Linked DNA regions of Homo sapiens: region 1 is linked to region 2. The links are contacts of gene promoters, found by promoter capture Hi-C in human tissues and cell types (Jung and others, 2019). All regions are on one chromosome and are shown on one strand. Each heading gives the region's core, a stretch centred on a gene start or on the middle of the fragment in contact. The rest is flanking DNA. Distances are from core to core; before and after follow the strand shown. Region 1 has its middle 140 kb from the start of CA3-AS1. Region 2 holds the start of CA2 (carbonic anhydrase 2).

Evidence for each region. The method cuts DNA at HindIII sites, captures the fragments that hold promoters and counts their contacts. A contact is called where the count stands out against the background at its distance.
Region 1: a contact is called between a fragment that was not itself captured here and the fragment with the promoter of CA2 in region 2, in 1 of the 25 tissues and cell types used here (hippocampus).

The regions. Positions count from the first base shown.
Region 1 is chr8:85,601,744-85,609,489 of GRCh38, reverse strand. No RefSeq gene overlaps it. Among named protein-coding and RNA genes, the nearest start is that of CA3-AS1, 140 kb to the right of the region's middle. The HindIII fragment of the contact is 5,534 bases long and covers 1-4,697 here.
Region 2 is chr8:85,457,944-85,465,267 of GRCh38, reverse strand. It overlaps CA2 (carbonic anhydrase 2), which reads right to left and starts at 1,261. Exons shown (of 7, transcript NM_000067.3): 1 at 1,153-1,261. The coding sequence starts at 1,186. It overlaps CA3-AS1 (CA3 antisense RNA 1), which reads left to right and starts at 353. Exons shown (of 3, transcript NR_121630.1): 1 at 353-686; 2 at 2,467-2,532. RefSeq lists enhancers at 653-1,152, 3,053-3,748 and silencers at 796-1,265, 1,376-1,695, 1,766-2,025. The HindIII fragment of the contact is 9,073 bases long and covers 1-3,470 here.

The DNA.
Region 1 (7,746 bases), core at 681-3,180, 140 kb before region 2:
AGGTAATGACCACACATGTAGCTTTACAGTCTTTAAGAAAAAAAATGAGACCGGGCACATTGATTCACGCCTGTAATCCCAGCACTTTGGAAGGCTGAGGCAGGCAGATCACTTGAGGCCAGGAGTTCCAGACCAGCCTGGCCAAAAAGGCAAAAAACCCCGTCTCTACTAAAAATACAAAAATTAGCTGAGTCTGGTGGTGTGTCCTGTAGTCCTAGCTACTTGGGAGGCTGAGTTAGGAGAATCACTTGAACCCAGGAAGCGGAGGTTACAGTGAGCTGAGATCACACCTGTACTCCAGCCTGGGTGACAGAGCAAAAGTCTGTCTTAAAAAAAAAAAAGAGTAAAAGCAAAATAAATAAAAGGTAACATGAGATATACTGAGTAAGAAATTTACACCATTTTCCAAAGCTGTGCTGCCCGGTAGAAATACAACGTAACCCACAAATGTGAGACACATAGGTAATTTCAAATTTTCCAATAGCCACATTTTAAAAAGGGAAAAAGAAATAAGGAAAATTCATTTAATAACATACTTAATCCAATATATTCAAAATATTATTTCAAATATTTATTCAAGATATTTTCAACTATTTCAACATATGGTCAACATAAAAATAATTTATGTGATATTTTACATTCCTTTTTTTTGGTATTAAGTCTTCCAAATCCAGCGTGTGTTTTAGTCTCGATTTGACCTGGCCACATTTCTAGTCAATAGGCATGTGTGGCTAGTCACTACCCCGCTGGACACTGCAGTGCTATCACTTCATGGTGAAAGTACAGGGCTGCAACAATGGACAGGGCATTGGGTTTGTGTTAAGCAGATGTGAGAATGGATAACTGGCTTGACTGTGTTGCTTCACCTTGTCAAATTACTTATCCTCCGAGTCTCAGTTTTCATATCCATAAAATAATAATAATATTTCCTTTGTAGAATTTCATGCAGGTTAAAAATAACATTCACAAAGCATTAGCTATATAGTTGGCTCTCAATAACTGTAGCTATATTTAATCATATTCTGATATATGAAGCACAGGTGATTTTTTTCTTTCTTTCTTTTTTTTTTTTTTTTTTGAGACAGAGTCTCACTCTGTCACCCAGGCTGGAGTGCAGTGGCGCAATCTTGGCTTACTGCAACCTCCGCCTCCTGGGTTCAAGCAATTATCTTGCCTCAATCTTCCAAGTAGCTGGGACTACAGGCAAGTGCCACCATGGCCAGCTAATTATTTGTATTTTTAGTAGAGACGGGGTTTCACCGTGTTAGCCAGGATGGTGTCGATCTCCTGACCTCGTGATCCGCCTGCCTCAGCCTGTGAAAGTGGTAGGATTACAGGCATGAGCCATTGTGCCCAGCCAGGTGATTTCCTTTGAAGGCAAAAATTTTATGATTTTCACTCAAATGTAGAAGGGGATCTTTAAAATCGACCAAACTTCTGAAATATGATTTTAAAGATAAACAACCAGGACTTTGTTTCACATTTGCTTTTCTAGTAGATTCTGTTTATGTGTTCTTTCTTTGTATTTCAAGATAATATGAGGCTTTCTCCACTACTACATTGTCTTACTTACTAATGATGAATGTATCTATTAGACAATATTTGGAAGAGAGGTTCACACAAATCTAGAAGTGTTAGGCAATATGTAAGTTTTGTGAAAATTAATGTGAGAGCAGGGAGCATGGCTTTGTAATCCTGGTTTCTCATCACAGAGACTATGGAAGGATTTTTGTATAAAGAAAATGATCAAGAATTCTCATGGAATTGAGCAGAATTTGAAAATATCTTTTAAACAAAGGAGTGAAATTTAATACAAAGTCAATGGACTTTGTAGTCCCAGCTACTCGGGAGGCTGAAGTGAGACAATCACTTGAACCCAGGAGGTGGAGGTAGCAGTGAGCTGAGATCCCATCTGTACTCCAGCCTGGATGACAGAGCAAGAGTCTGTCTCAAAAAAAAAAAAAAAAAAAAAAAAAAAGAAAGAAAGGAAGAAAAGGAAAGAAAAAGAAATATGAGTAAGGGCAAAATAAATAAAAGGTAACATGAGACATATTGAGTAAGAAATTTACACCACTTTCCAAAGCTGTGCTGTCTAGTAGAAATGCAATGCAAGACACAAATGTGAGACACACAGGTAATTTCAAATTACAAATTGAACAGAGTCAATGTCCAATTTTTTGTACAATATATAGATTTGGTCTTGTTTTTTATTGCAAGGTACAATTTTAGCAATAAAAACCAATAAAATTACACGAATGCCTTTTCTTTTTTTCTTTTCTTTTTTTGACACAGAATCTCGCTGTGTCACCCAGGCCTGAATGCAATGGCACGATTTTGGCTCACTGCAACCTCTGCCTCCCAGGTTCAAGCAATTCTCCTGCCTCAGCCTCCGAGTAGCTGGGATTACAGGTATGTGCCACCATGCATGGCTAATTTTGTATTTTTAGTAGAGATGAGGTTTTACCATGTTGGCTAGGGGACATACATTTTCTATGACAACTTAAAACCAAGTGCTATATAAATTAAGAGTACGGATGCATATTTAACAAATGTGTTTAAGACCTAAGATGATTTCCTACTTTTCAGATCCTAAATTTAGTGTGGTTTATCAGCCCCACTTTAGACAGGCACTGTTGAAGGAGACTGAGAAATAGAACCCAGTAGGAATAAGTCATGATAAAAGTATCTACTGGGATAAGTGACGGGAGGAAATCTAGAATTATTATGCAACATATAAGTTCTGTGAAAATAAATGCAGAAAACTAAGCTTGCTTGTTTAAAACATAATGTTCTTTTTTTTTTCTTTTTTTTTTGAGACAGAGTCTCGCTCTGTCGCCCAGGCTGGAGTGCAGTGGCGCGATCTCGGCTCACTGCAACCTCCGCTTCCCAGGTTCAAGCAATTCTCCTGCCTCAGCCTCCTGAGTAGCTGGGATTACAGGCGCCCACCACCATGCCCAGCTAATTTTTGTATTTTTAGTAGAGCCGGGGTTTCACCATGTTGGTCAGGCTGGTCTCGAACCCCTGACCTCGTGATCCACTGGCCTCAGCCTCCCAAAGTGCTGGGATTACAGGCATGAGCCACTGCACCCGGCCAAAACATATCTGTTCTTTACTCCAGAAAGAAAAAGAAGACCCACTAAAAAATCTTGCTTTTGTAAAGATAAAATATTTTCAGTATTTTGTATCAAATTTGAGAAAAGAAAGTCTTAATGTAGAAGGCCAAATATGAGAGAATGTTGAGTTATTCTTGGTAATGAGGGGAGGCAGACAAGAATCATGCCAGCACTGAATACCAAATTACACAAGAAAATTTGACTATAAAAACATGAACAGAGCAGCCACCTGAATTATAATTTTTGCAGCATTTGGCATTTTTGAGACATTCATGGTGGCTTACATGGAAACACATCATGAAATACTTCTAATAAGATTTTAAGCCTACTTTACCTGAAGTTAGGATTAAACATTACCTTGTCAGTTTAATATTAACCAAATTTGCCTGGTGTGGTGGCTCACACCTGTAATCCCAGCACTTTGGGAGGCTGAGACAGGTGGATCACTGAAGGTCAGGAGTTTGAGACCAACCTGGGAAACATGGTAAAACTTTGTCTCTACTAATAATACAAAAAATTAGCTAGGCATAGTGGTGGGCACCTGTAATCTCAGCTACTCAGGAGGCTGAGGCAGAAGAATCACTTGAACCTGGGAGGCAGAGGTTGCAGTGAGCTGAGATCACACCACTGCACTCCAGCTTGGACAACAGAACAAGAATCTGTCTAAAAATATATATACGTATTGAAGTTATCTATTTTTCCCTGGTTCATTAAATAAACAACTAATTTTACTCTTAAAAATCAAGTCTTCTTATGACTGTGACATGTTTTCAGAAAAAAAAATTAAGTCTTAAGTCTTCACTCGTGAAAGACTATTTTGGGGGAATCTTTATTTAGAAATTATTGTCTTCTCATTGTTAAAATATTTACAGAATGTCTAATCGAGACTTTCACATAGTGGGTGCCTCCTAAATTTTGATGACTGAATGAATCAGGGATAATTTGAATATTAAAACCAATTAAATTACAATAATAACAGAAAAAGATTAGTATGCAAAGGTTGAAGTTCAGTTTCATTCTAGAGATAAGAAAACATTTTGTGAGAGATTCTTCAAATGCACTCTAAATTTCAGTGGCCATTTATTTATTTATTTATTTATTTTTGAGATAAGAGTTTTGCTCTTGTCACCTGGGCTAGAGTGCAGTGGTGCAATCTAGGCTCACTGCAACCTCTGCCTCCCGGGTTCAAGTGATTCTCCTGCCTCAGCCTCCCAAGTAGCTGGGATTATAGGCACCCACCACCACCGCCAGCTAATTTTTTTTTTTTTTGTATTTTTAGTAGAGATGAGGTTTCACCATGTTGGCCAGTCTGGTCTCGAACTCCTGACCTCAGGTGATCTGCCTGCCTCAGTCTCCCAAAGTGCAAGGATTACAGGTGTGAGCTACTGTGCCTGGCCATTTATTAATACACTCCCACACTTTAGATATTCTGTGCTCTTCACTCCAAGTAGAATCTGAAAATAACAGAAATATGAGATTTTTGAAATATTATACATAAAAAACTCCCTCTCCAATTATTGTTATGCTGTATGTTTTTATTTTTGGCTGGGTCAACCTATGTAAGACAAATTATCTGGCGAAACAGGTTCTTATCTATTTGATCCTAGTTGCTTCTAACAACTGATAGCACAAAACTGAAAGTGGGTGAGCCACATCTGTTGTTATTTTTTGAACCAATTTCATCTATATTTTGGCTTCGTTGTAAACTTTGTGCTCAAAATTCATAGGATCTCTCTAAACTCCATGTTCAGTATACATATTTGTGATGGTTAATACTGAGTGTCAACTTGATTTGATTGAAGGATGCAAAGTATTGACCCTGGGTGTGTCTATGAAGAGATTAACATTCCAGTCAGTGGGCTGGGAAAGGCAGACCCACCCTTAATCTGGGTGGGCGCCATCTAATCAGCTGCCAGTGCAGCCAGAATAAAAAGCAGGCAGAAGAACGTGAAAAGACTAGACTGGCTTAGCCTCCCAGCCTACATCTTTCCCCCATGCTGGCTGCTTCCTGCCCTTGAACATCAAACTCCAAGTTCTTCAGCTTTGGGACTCTGACTGGCTTCCTTGCTCCTCTGCTTGCAGACAGACTATTGTGGGACCTTATGATCACATGAGTTAATACTTCTTAATAAACTCCCCTTTATATATATATTTATCCTATTAGTTCTGTCCTTCTAGAGAACCCTGACTGATATAGTATGTATGTAATTTCTTAAATTGCGATTGCCAGTAGAAAAAAAAATAAAAATAAAATCAATGAATTAAAATACTGGTTGATCACAACAACAAACTGAAGTTTCAAGTAAACACTGAGGACTGTTTTATGGATACTATTATCTTCAGTTCTAATTCTAATTGTTCACCAACTGTGGTCCATTAAATTCAGGTTCTGGATGTGCATAGTGAACTAAGGGTCTTGCTGTATATTGTATACTCTGCTTCTGTAATATAATTGCAATTGCAACAGAAACATCTCTCCCTAGGTTTATTATGTAGTAAATGTACCCATGCAAAAGCATGATGGAAAAAGAGTGGGTTAAATGTAAAATCGAGGTCTTAATGGTGCAATTGAAGACAAGGTCCTGCCATTGTTTTCCTGAAATATTTTGTGCACTTCTTTTGTTTTCTTTATTTCAATTTTTCTGTTTGTTAAGGGGCAGTTATATTCAAACACTTTCTAGTTAATACATTAGTTGTAAGGATTAATGGACCCTCATAAGTTGCAAAGAGAAAGACATATCTATTGGCAAAAAGAACTGATGGAATCAAATAGATAAGAAGCCAAGTATGTTTCTGAGTGAGTGATTATGTTGATAAAACCCAGCAGGGACTAAAAGAGACTGTGGCTTCTTGAGGCTTGGGCCCCTAAACTTTCCTGAGTGAAAAGCAGCCTGGGACTGCACCTTGGCTCCCAATGAGACCATGATCTCCAACATTCTTTTCAGATGTAGCCAAAGAGGATAATGGAAAAGGAAGGCTTCTCAGAGGGCAAAGCTAAGCCCTATGGAGAAGAACGAACTGTACAGGCATTGCTGGGGGTGAGTTCAGAGAATTATCAAGGAACATCCCCCAGCCTCAGGGAAACAGTGGCCTCTTACAACTTCCCAGTGGGATTTCAAACTTTTACAGGCCATGACTATTGTATGTCCTGGTCTTCCCTCTTCCAAATGCAAATACTTACTGCATTTATCCTGAGCCTGCTCAGTCACTGTATATTGGATGTGCATGGAGTTAATAACGGATATAGTTTGGATATGTGTCCCCACCGAAATCTCATGTTGAATTGTAATCCTCAGTGTTAGACGTGGGGCCTGGTTGGAGGTGATTGGATCATGGGAGTGGATTTATCACGAATGGCTTAACGCCATCTCCTTGGTGCTGTTCTCATGATAGGGAGTGAGTTCTTGTGAGATCTGGCTGTTTAAAAGTGTGTGGCACCTTCCCTGTCTTTCTTGCTCCCACTTTTGCCAGGTGATGTGACTGCTCCCCCTTTGCCTTCTGCCGTGACTGGAAGCTTCCTGAGGCCTCCCTGAAGTAGATGCCACTATGCTTCCTGTACAGCCTGCAGAACCGGGAACAAACTAAACATCTTTTCTTACAAATTACCCAGTCTCAGGTATTTTTTAATAGCAATGCAAGAACAGTCTAACACTAAAATTTATTCACAGGTCTCTAGACCAATGTAAAGACCATCACAAAACCCCACTCTTCATTGAGCTTGGTGCCATGAATAATAGGGTTATCTCCTAATGGGGGTAGGTAAGTGTGTTCTGTATGTGGGCACTGAAGAGAAGTATTTGTAATATGTGCTATCCTTCCCTGGAAGCAGATTATACTTTCCCAACCTATTGATGTCAGGCTTATACATGTGACTTGCTCTGGCCAATGAAAGAAGTGACATGAAGAGAACCACAGCTGAAGCTGACCCTGAAGGGCATAAAGCACAAGCAAGAAATAAACACTTGAGTCACTTGCTATAGCAGTATAGTTGGCTATCCTGAAAATATATACTAATTATGGTATTTAGTAAACATGTATTGAATTATTGCCATACGCCAGACACTTGAGGTGCAAAGTGGTCCAAGGAAAGAACAATTGCAGCAGAGCAAAAGGGCAACCAGTTATTCCCTGCCTAAGTGCAAAATATGTGCTGAGAGTTCAGGATATGGAACTAGAAAAATAAATGCATTTATATTGTTAAGTATCAATCATATATACAATTGTGTGTGCGTGTATTTCATATATAGAATATCTGCTTAGCTGTATCAGAAGTTCACTCTTTAGACTTGTAATAAAGCTTCATTGCACCATTTAAAAAACAAGAAAAAGACATGCAAAAGCATCCCTAGAGCAGCAGGCAAGCCTGGCTGCTTTTGTTGCTGCTATTTTCAGCTTGCCCTGCTTCTGTCAGACTGGGTCAGCGCTGAATGCCAGGGGCAAGATGGCGTCCTTGGCAGGAGCAAGGCCATGTGGTAGAGAGGTTTAAAAAAGAATCCATGCCTGAAGGACTAAGAGGATGTGTAATGAAGTAATTCTTACTTCGGAAGCAATTGTGTTGTGAATTTTAAAATGTCAAAAGTCTTTGAATTGAGGAGATACCACAAATGCCCTTGATCAACTGAAATAAGAACAA
Region 2 (7,324 bases), core at 12-2,511:
GGGAAAGAAGACATGTGAATCCCCCATTGTGGGGAAAGGTACACCCAGACCCCTAGAGAAGAGCAATCATTCCGGAGCCAATCTGCTCAGTTCCAATTTTAGAAGCATCACTTAACAATGGGCTAAATTTTGGGAAAACACGTAATCTGTGCCTCAGTTTCCACATTTGTAATATGGGATAATTAGAAATCTACCTCATAGATGTCGCTGTAAGAATTAGAATCGATATATGTAAAGCTCTTAGATCACTGAGTGCTATATAAATATTAGCTATTTTAAGGTCGTTTTACTGAAATTCAGCAACTGAAATCGGGCAGACACTAATGTCAGGGCTTGTGGTTGCGATTTTGGGATATGCAAGCTCACTTAAGACATTCAAGGAGGTCTGGATCCTTTCCTCACTGCCCAGGCCCGGGCCCACCCCACCTTTAACCGTCAGGGTTCCCCACTACCTGGGAAGCCCCACACCCTCCAAAGATGCGCTAGGTGCGCCAGACGCATGCTCCTCTGCTCCGCTGGCTCCGAAGAACCAGATCTGAGGCCAAGATAAAACCCGATTCCTGATGTCCGACCCCCTAACATTAGAAGTCGAGAGATGAAGGGAAAACTCGGAAATCAGAGCCATGGATTCAAACCAGCACTGGAAAATGCCCCGGGACAGTTCGTGCTGAGCGCCTTAGCCACAGGTGGTGCTGAAGCTGGAGGGGTGGGGTGGGGGTGGAAGGTGGGGGAGGGGGGAGGGGAGTCTCTTAATTTCTCTGCGATCAACAACTAGAATTTTCCGTTACAACCCTTTCCCGCCTCCTCCTAGGTCCGGTTAAAATGATCCCCAGGTCGGGACCCGGGAGGGACTGTCCTCGGGTCCCGCGGCCAGGGCTGCGCCTCCCCTCCCTCGGGCCCTACGCGCCTCCGGCGGACGCGGGGATTCCTCCACAGTGGCCTCGCAGCTGGGGCAAGGGGGACATCCCCGGCGCCGCGGAGCCGCGAGCGGAGCGAGCGCCCGGGGCGCACCTGAGCCTCCAGCACTCCCCGCGGCCGCGGTAAACAGCATGTGCGGGCGCTGCGGGCCCCGGGCCGGCATCCGGGCTCGGGGATCGGGGATCGGGGATCGGGGATCGGGGCGCCCCCGCGCTGGCCGTCGCCGGCACTCACCGTTGTGTTTGCCGTACCCCCAGTGATGGGACATGGTCGCGCTGGCGGTCGGGGCAGGGCAGGAATCGGCACCGATCTGGCGGCGGCGGCTTGGGCGCCTGCACTGTGTGTCCGCGGGTCGCGCCGGCACCAGCTTTTATAGGCTCCCGCCAACTTCGTGCTCGGGGGCGGCCCGGGGGAGGGGGCTCGGGTGGACCTAGGCGACAAGGGGAGGTGGTGACGGGCGGAGGTGAACTCCCCGCGCTCGGGGCGGGGCGGGCCGGGCGGGCGAGTCTCCGGGGGCGGGGAAAACGCCCTCTCGGCTGGCGCCCGGCGGGGCTCCGGGGCTCCGGGGCTCCGGGGCTCCTCTCCCGCCGCCCGGCTCCCCTCGGCCCACGGCAGGGCCCCGGTGTCCTGGGCTGGCAGCGAAGCTCGGAGCTCTGGGCGTGCGGCGGCTGCGGTGGCTCCTGGGCTCCTCCGTCCAACCCGGGCCGCGGAGCCTCTACGCGCACCCCATCCCCCTCCCGGCTGCGGAGTCTGGCGGCGGCGGGGACTGCTCGGGACCCGGACCCCCGGCGCCTTTCGTCCCCTGTCCCCATTGTGACCTGTCTCTTGGCCCCGGAGCCCTCCCGCCCCACCCGCGCCGGGGTCTCCAGCGCGAAGGGCTCAGTCTCTGGTGTCCCCGGCCTGGGGCTGGCAAGCTGGGTTAGGAGCTATGACCTTGGGGCAAATAGGGATACGATCCTAGAGGCGCAGGGGAGCGCGCAGCATGAGTGCTGAGAGGCACGCGCCCTCTGCTGCACGGCCGTGGAATAAAACGAGACAACGGCCCCACAGTCCCCTGCCCGCAGCCCACGCTCGGGCGAGCCTGGAGGATTGCATTTCCTCGTAGGCTGGCAGAGCCTTACATGAAGCGCTCATCTTCTCCTACTTTCCTCCTCTTTAAAAAATTAACGTGGGTGAGGAGACGTCCTAGTTGAGTACATATTGATTTGAAATAACCAAAACTTTTAACAAATCACTTTTCTCAGAAGAATCCAGTAAGAGAAAGATAATTTCTTCCAAAGACATGAGACGTTCCCTGGCTGGCCAAGAAAAATTGGCATCTGGCATACCTAGGAATCATTCAAAATAGTTTAATAGGAAGGACATTTTGAGGCCAGCCAGCATTATGACATTTGTGGGTCCTACGGCATTTCACCTTGGTGGGTCCCTTTTTCATAAACACGCATTTATACCAACACTGACATAAAGATAAATATCTTAATATTATATATTTAAACATTTTCTTTAACCAACACCTAATTTTTTTCTTTTTTGTTCTTATTTTAAAAGGAAACATTTTCCTGGGCATCTAAAAGTATTGTGGACCTGAGACACTGTGCTTACAGGGCCTACTGGGTAAGTGAGGCTGTTTTGAGATATAGAGAGAATTCATTTCCTACAAGGGATTTTGCCACAGAAAAATCCGGGGGTTTGTGGGAAGGAGTTCGGTTCTGTGGTCTCTGCAATCTCTGAGGGCAATAGTATTAGAGTTACAGTTGGGGAAGCAGGACACAGTTTAATGTGATTGTGTCGGCCTTGACATCACATTACTTACCTTTGAAAATATACAGATAAATACAAGGATAAGTTATTAGTGGACATTTTTGCAATATGTATCTCAAAATCACTCTTTACTATTTATTTCAGTCAATTTCATCCAAACAAATATGATTCATGTTTAGACTTACTTGTTCTAAGATTCTAGAAAATTGTGTACTTCTGCTTATGTGGGTTTTGGGTTGATGTCACAGGGAATTCTTAGGCAAGAAAGCAGCAATAAAGTTTTTAAATTTTTAGGACCATTACAAAATGGAGTTTGTAGCAAAGAAGAAGCTTTTATTTGTGCCTCTGTAGGTGCATTGTATCTGTTGGGGCCCATTGATGTAATTTTGTTTCTTTACATAATTTTCAAATATTAACTTAGTTGCTATGAGACTCTTCACTTGGCCCTGGAGATATGGCGTTGATAGGTGCCAAGAATTGAGTGCAAAGTTTGTGAATGTAGAGTGGCTTCCCGGGATTCTGTGGAGGGAGCCAGGCGATTTGATCAGCAGGAATCCTTGTCTTTCATTTTCCGTGAAACTGGATTGTGGCTTTCCTAACAGGGATGAAGTAAGAGCATGTTTGATTCTTAAATATGCGTAAAACTTCAAACACCACCAAACTGCAGTTCACCAAATGGATTATTGTCATGGGAATTTTTCCTTATCTCTCACTTCTGGAAAGTGAATTAATTCTCAGTGGGAGCAAGCCCTCCCCACAGAGCTGCTGTTAGGGAGAGTGTCACATGTTCACCACAGGGTGGAGAGTGGTTCACCTTTGGTTACTCAGAAGCAATCTAAATTTTTTAGCAGCGTTTTTGGTATTACAGTGGTTGGCTTAGCATTGTTTTATTTTCCTGGTCAATTTTTTTTAATGGAGTTAACTTTATGCATTCATGTTGGTCAGTCCCAACCTAACTTTATTTTACTGAAGGCATTCTTCTTAGCAGGCTGTCATGATTCACTAGCTGCAAAAGACTACTCTAATACTGGATTTGTTCAAATAAAAAAAGTGCTTATCTTATTATGTACCTATCTTTCCATTAGAGGGAAGGATGGGTTCATTTCAGAATAATCTTAAGTAAAGGAACTGACAGTAGCTTAAGAAAAGTACTTTTCTTTGCCCCAGAAAAAAAAAAATTCAGGCAGTATATCAGGAAAATGTAATGTAAAAAAACTTAAAGTCTGTGTTCCAATTATTATAATAAAAAAGCTTCTAACATATTATTCTTAGTAAAAATGTGAAAGTATTTGCTTTTTCTCAAAAAATGTAAAGATATTGTTAAAATATTTTACAAGGTGAGATACACATTATTTATTAAATATTTAATTAAAAAGCTAATAAAAAGCCAGATATTCTCATATTTGTTACCATTATAGTGTTTAAGTAGATATCTGGGGCTGGACTCAGTGGCTCCCGCCTGTAATCCCAGCACTTTGGGAGGCCAAGGCAGGCGGATCGCTTGAGGTCAGGAGCTCAAGACCAGCCTGGGCAACATGGCAAAACCCCATCTTTACAAAAAATAAGAAGTTAGCCAGGCATGGTGGTGTGCCCCTGTAGTCCCAGCTGCTTAGGAGGCTAAGGTCGGCAGATCGGAACCCAGGAGGTTGAGGCTGCAGTGAGCCATGATCATGCGACTGCACTCCAGACTGGGAAACAGGAAGACACTGTCTCAAACAAAATAAAAATAAATAAATATCTATGAAGGCCAAGAGCCATTTGTTTCTTGGGGCTCCCATAGGTCTTTGCATACACATCCTTCTATCCTAATATTGGCAATTCTGCATTGTAATCAGACACTCTATTGTAATCATTGGGTTATAATCCAATGCCCCAATAAGCTGTTGACTGCTCATTTGTAAAGCAGGAATAATGACACTCACCTCATTGTTGTAAGAATTCAGTCAGTGAGCATAGATAAATCACCTGTCACGTGTAGGCACTCAGTAAATGATGGCTATTCAGTCCCTCCTAGACAGTGCTAAACAGTTAGAATATAATTTAAGGAATGCAAAATTAAACACCTGGGCCAGGTTCATGGGAAACATTTAAGAGGAATGAGTCTCCACAGCAGGAGGTGTTTTTTTGTTTGTTTTGTTTTGTTTTTTTTTGTGAGAGGACAGAGGAGTGTTTGGGTCATGGAGATGTCCATTCTACCACGCTTATGTTTTTCTTCCTAAACTGTGCCCCCTGAAGTTGAGTACTGTGTCACATTATTTATCTCTGTATCTTAGGCACCTAGTACCCTTTACCTAGCCTGAGTCCCAAGATACATATAGTAGTTACTCACATAGTACTCCTTGAAATTATAAACTTTGAAAAATCCAAATGGAGATAATGGCAGTTTCACTTTGCAGAAGTTAGTAAATAATTTTGTTACAGATTATAGTTAGCAAATAACATTGTGCTGAAATTAGGTTGGTTTTGAATCTGGGTTAATTTACTAGCTTTGTGACTTTGGGCAAATTTCTTGATTGTGCTAAGATTCAGTTTCCTCATCTATAAAACTAGGATAATAATAATACTTACCTCACAGAGTTGTGGTGAGGACTAAGATGATACAGTGTGTGAAGGATTTAACCTAGTGCCAATAATTAGAGCTTGATCAATGTCAGTTATCATTACTACCGTTACATGTTTCTCAGCTCCTATTTTGTGCTTAATATTTTCTATGTGCTAGGTGAGCTACACAAGATAACTTGTCTCATCATCCATTCACTCAATGAATCATTCTGAATGCTATTATGTGTCAGGCATCAGCACAGAGGCTATAGCCATAAACCAGATCAACATGACTCCTGCCCTCACAGAGTTTACATGGGGATGGATGGGGGTACTGTACAATAAATGACTCAAAATAAACAACAAAAGTAAATTTCCAATACTGAAAATTAGTATGAGGAAAGTAAAACAGGAATGAGGTAAAGAATAATGAGTGAGGAAATCCTACTTTAGATGCGGTGGTTATAGAAAACCTATTGAAGGAAGTACATTTGAGGAACCACTAAAAAAAGATCTGGGGGAGGGCATTTCAGGCAGAGGAAACAGCAAGTATAAAGGCCCTGAGAAAGGAAGTTTCTAGAACAGAAAAGCTTGTGACTGAAGCATGGTGACTGAGGAAGAAAAGACAAGTAGTGGAGTCAGAGACAGTCAGGGGCTACAGCCTGCAGAGCCTTGCAGACAATGATAGCAAGAAAGGATTTTATACTAGTTGCGCAGGGAAGCCACTAGGGAGTGGCTTATGCACAGGTATATTATGTGCTGGGAGGATATAATACAAACCACAACAATATATCATTGTAGAATTAAAAGAAGTTTGGAGGTTACCTGGTCCAACTATTTATTTTATAGATGAGGAGACTTGTAGAAGTCCCCAGATACAACACGCTGTTGCCTAGCTCCTTGCTTTTATTCATCTGACAACTTCCTTTACAGAAAGATCCAAACTTCTTCTTCTGACTATAAAACCATTTAATCCTGTCTCTGGCTTCCCTCTTGGACTCTGAGTCTCTCAATATCCTTCTTTGGTAAGATGTGAGGCAGCATCACAAGTGGCCAAGAGCCCAGGTTTTATAGTTTGGATTCAGCTTCGAGGGCTTCTTCACTACATGATCTTATATACTTATTTCACCTCCTCAAAGCTCAGTTTCCAAAGGTGAAATGTAGTAAGAGTACCCAGGGCTGCTGATCGTGGTAAATGGACTAGTTTGTGTGAATTGGTCCTGTGAATGAACATGATTCCTGGTATGTTGTTAGCTGCTCCATTAGGATTATTGTTATTGTAGTCAAGAACCATAGAATTGTGAAATGGGAATCGACTTTGTAATAAGACAGACCTGAGTTCATACTCTGACTCGAACACTTACTTGCTGCATCACCTTCAGCAAACTAAGCAATCCCTCTGAACTTCACATGCTTTATTTGTAAATGGGGACTGGGCGGAACGGGGCGAAGGGAATTCTAGCTCCACAACGTGATGAGAATGAATGTCTGGAAGATGCTAGATACAATCCTGGCATATTTTCTTTGTTGAATAAATGGTATGATTGTCATTACATATAATATTTTCCATTGTCAAATAACAGGTTGACTTTCCTAGTTCTCTAACTTGGATGAAAATTCACATGTATTTAATTGACATTATTTGAGTTCCTGATCTATAAAAATAGCTAACACTTATTGAAAACTGATTACGCACCAACACAGTTCTGAATGCTTCACATAGTCCTACTCTACAGCTGGTGTCATTGAGGCATAGAGGTAGGTCAGATTACCCCAGGTAACTCAGCTAGGAAGTGATGGGGCCAGGTATGAAACCAAACAGTTTGAACTGTTAGCCATCTGCTATGTGGTCTCCCCGAGGGCCAGCGAAATACCTTCAAGGAGCTTATGAAGGCAACTGCCTCGTGGTGATGTAATAGCAATGCATTAAGATTATGTGAGCAGTACTCCTCTATAAAATAGAATGTCTATCAAAATGCTGGCCATTTTTAGGGTTTCCTGCCAAACTCCTTTTAACTATTTGGGGTAGCAGGGGATAACAATAACTTTACATATAATAAACAGTTGAATTCAACTTCCCTTAGTAAATAGCTTTTCAGACTTT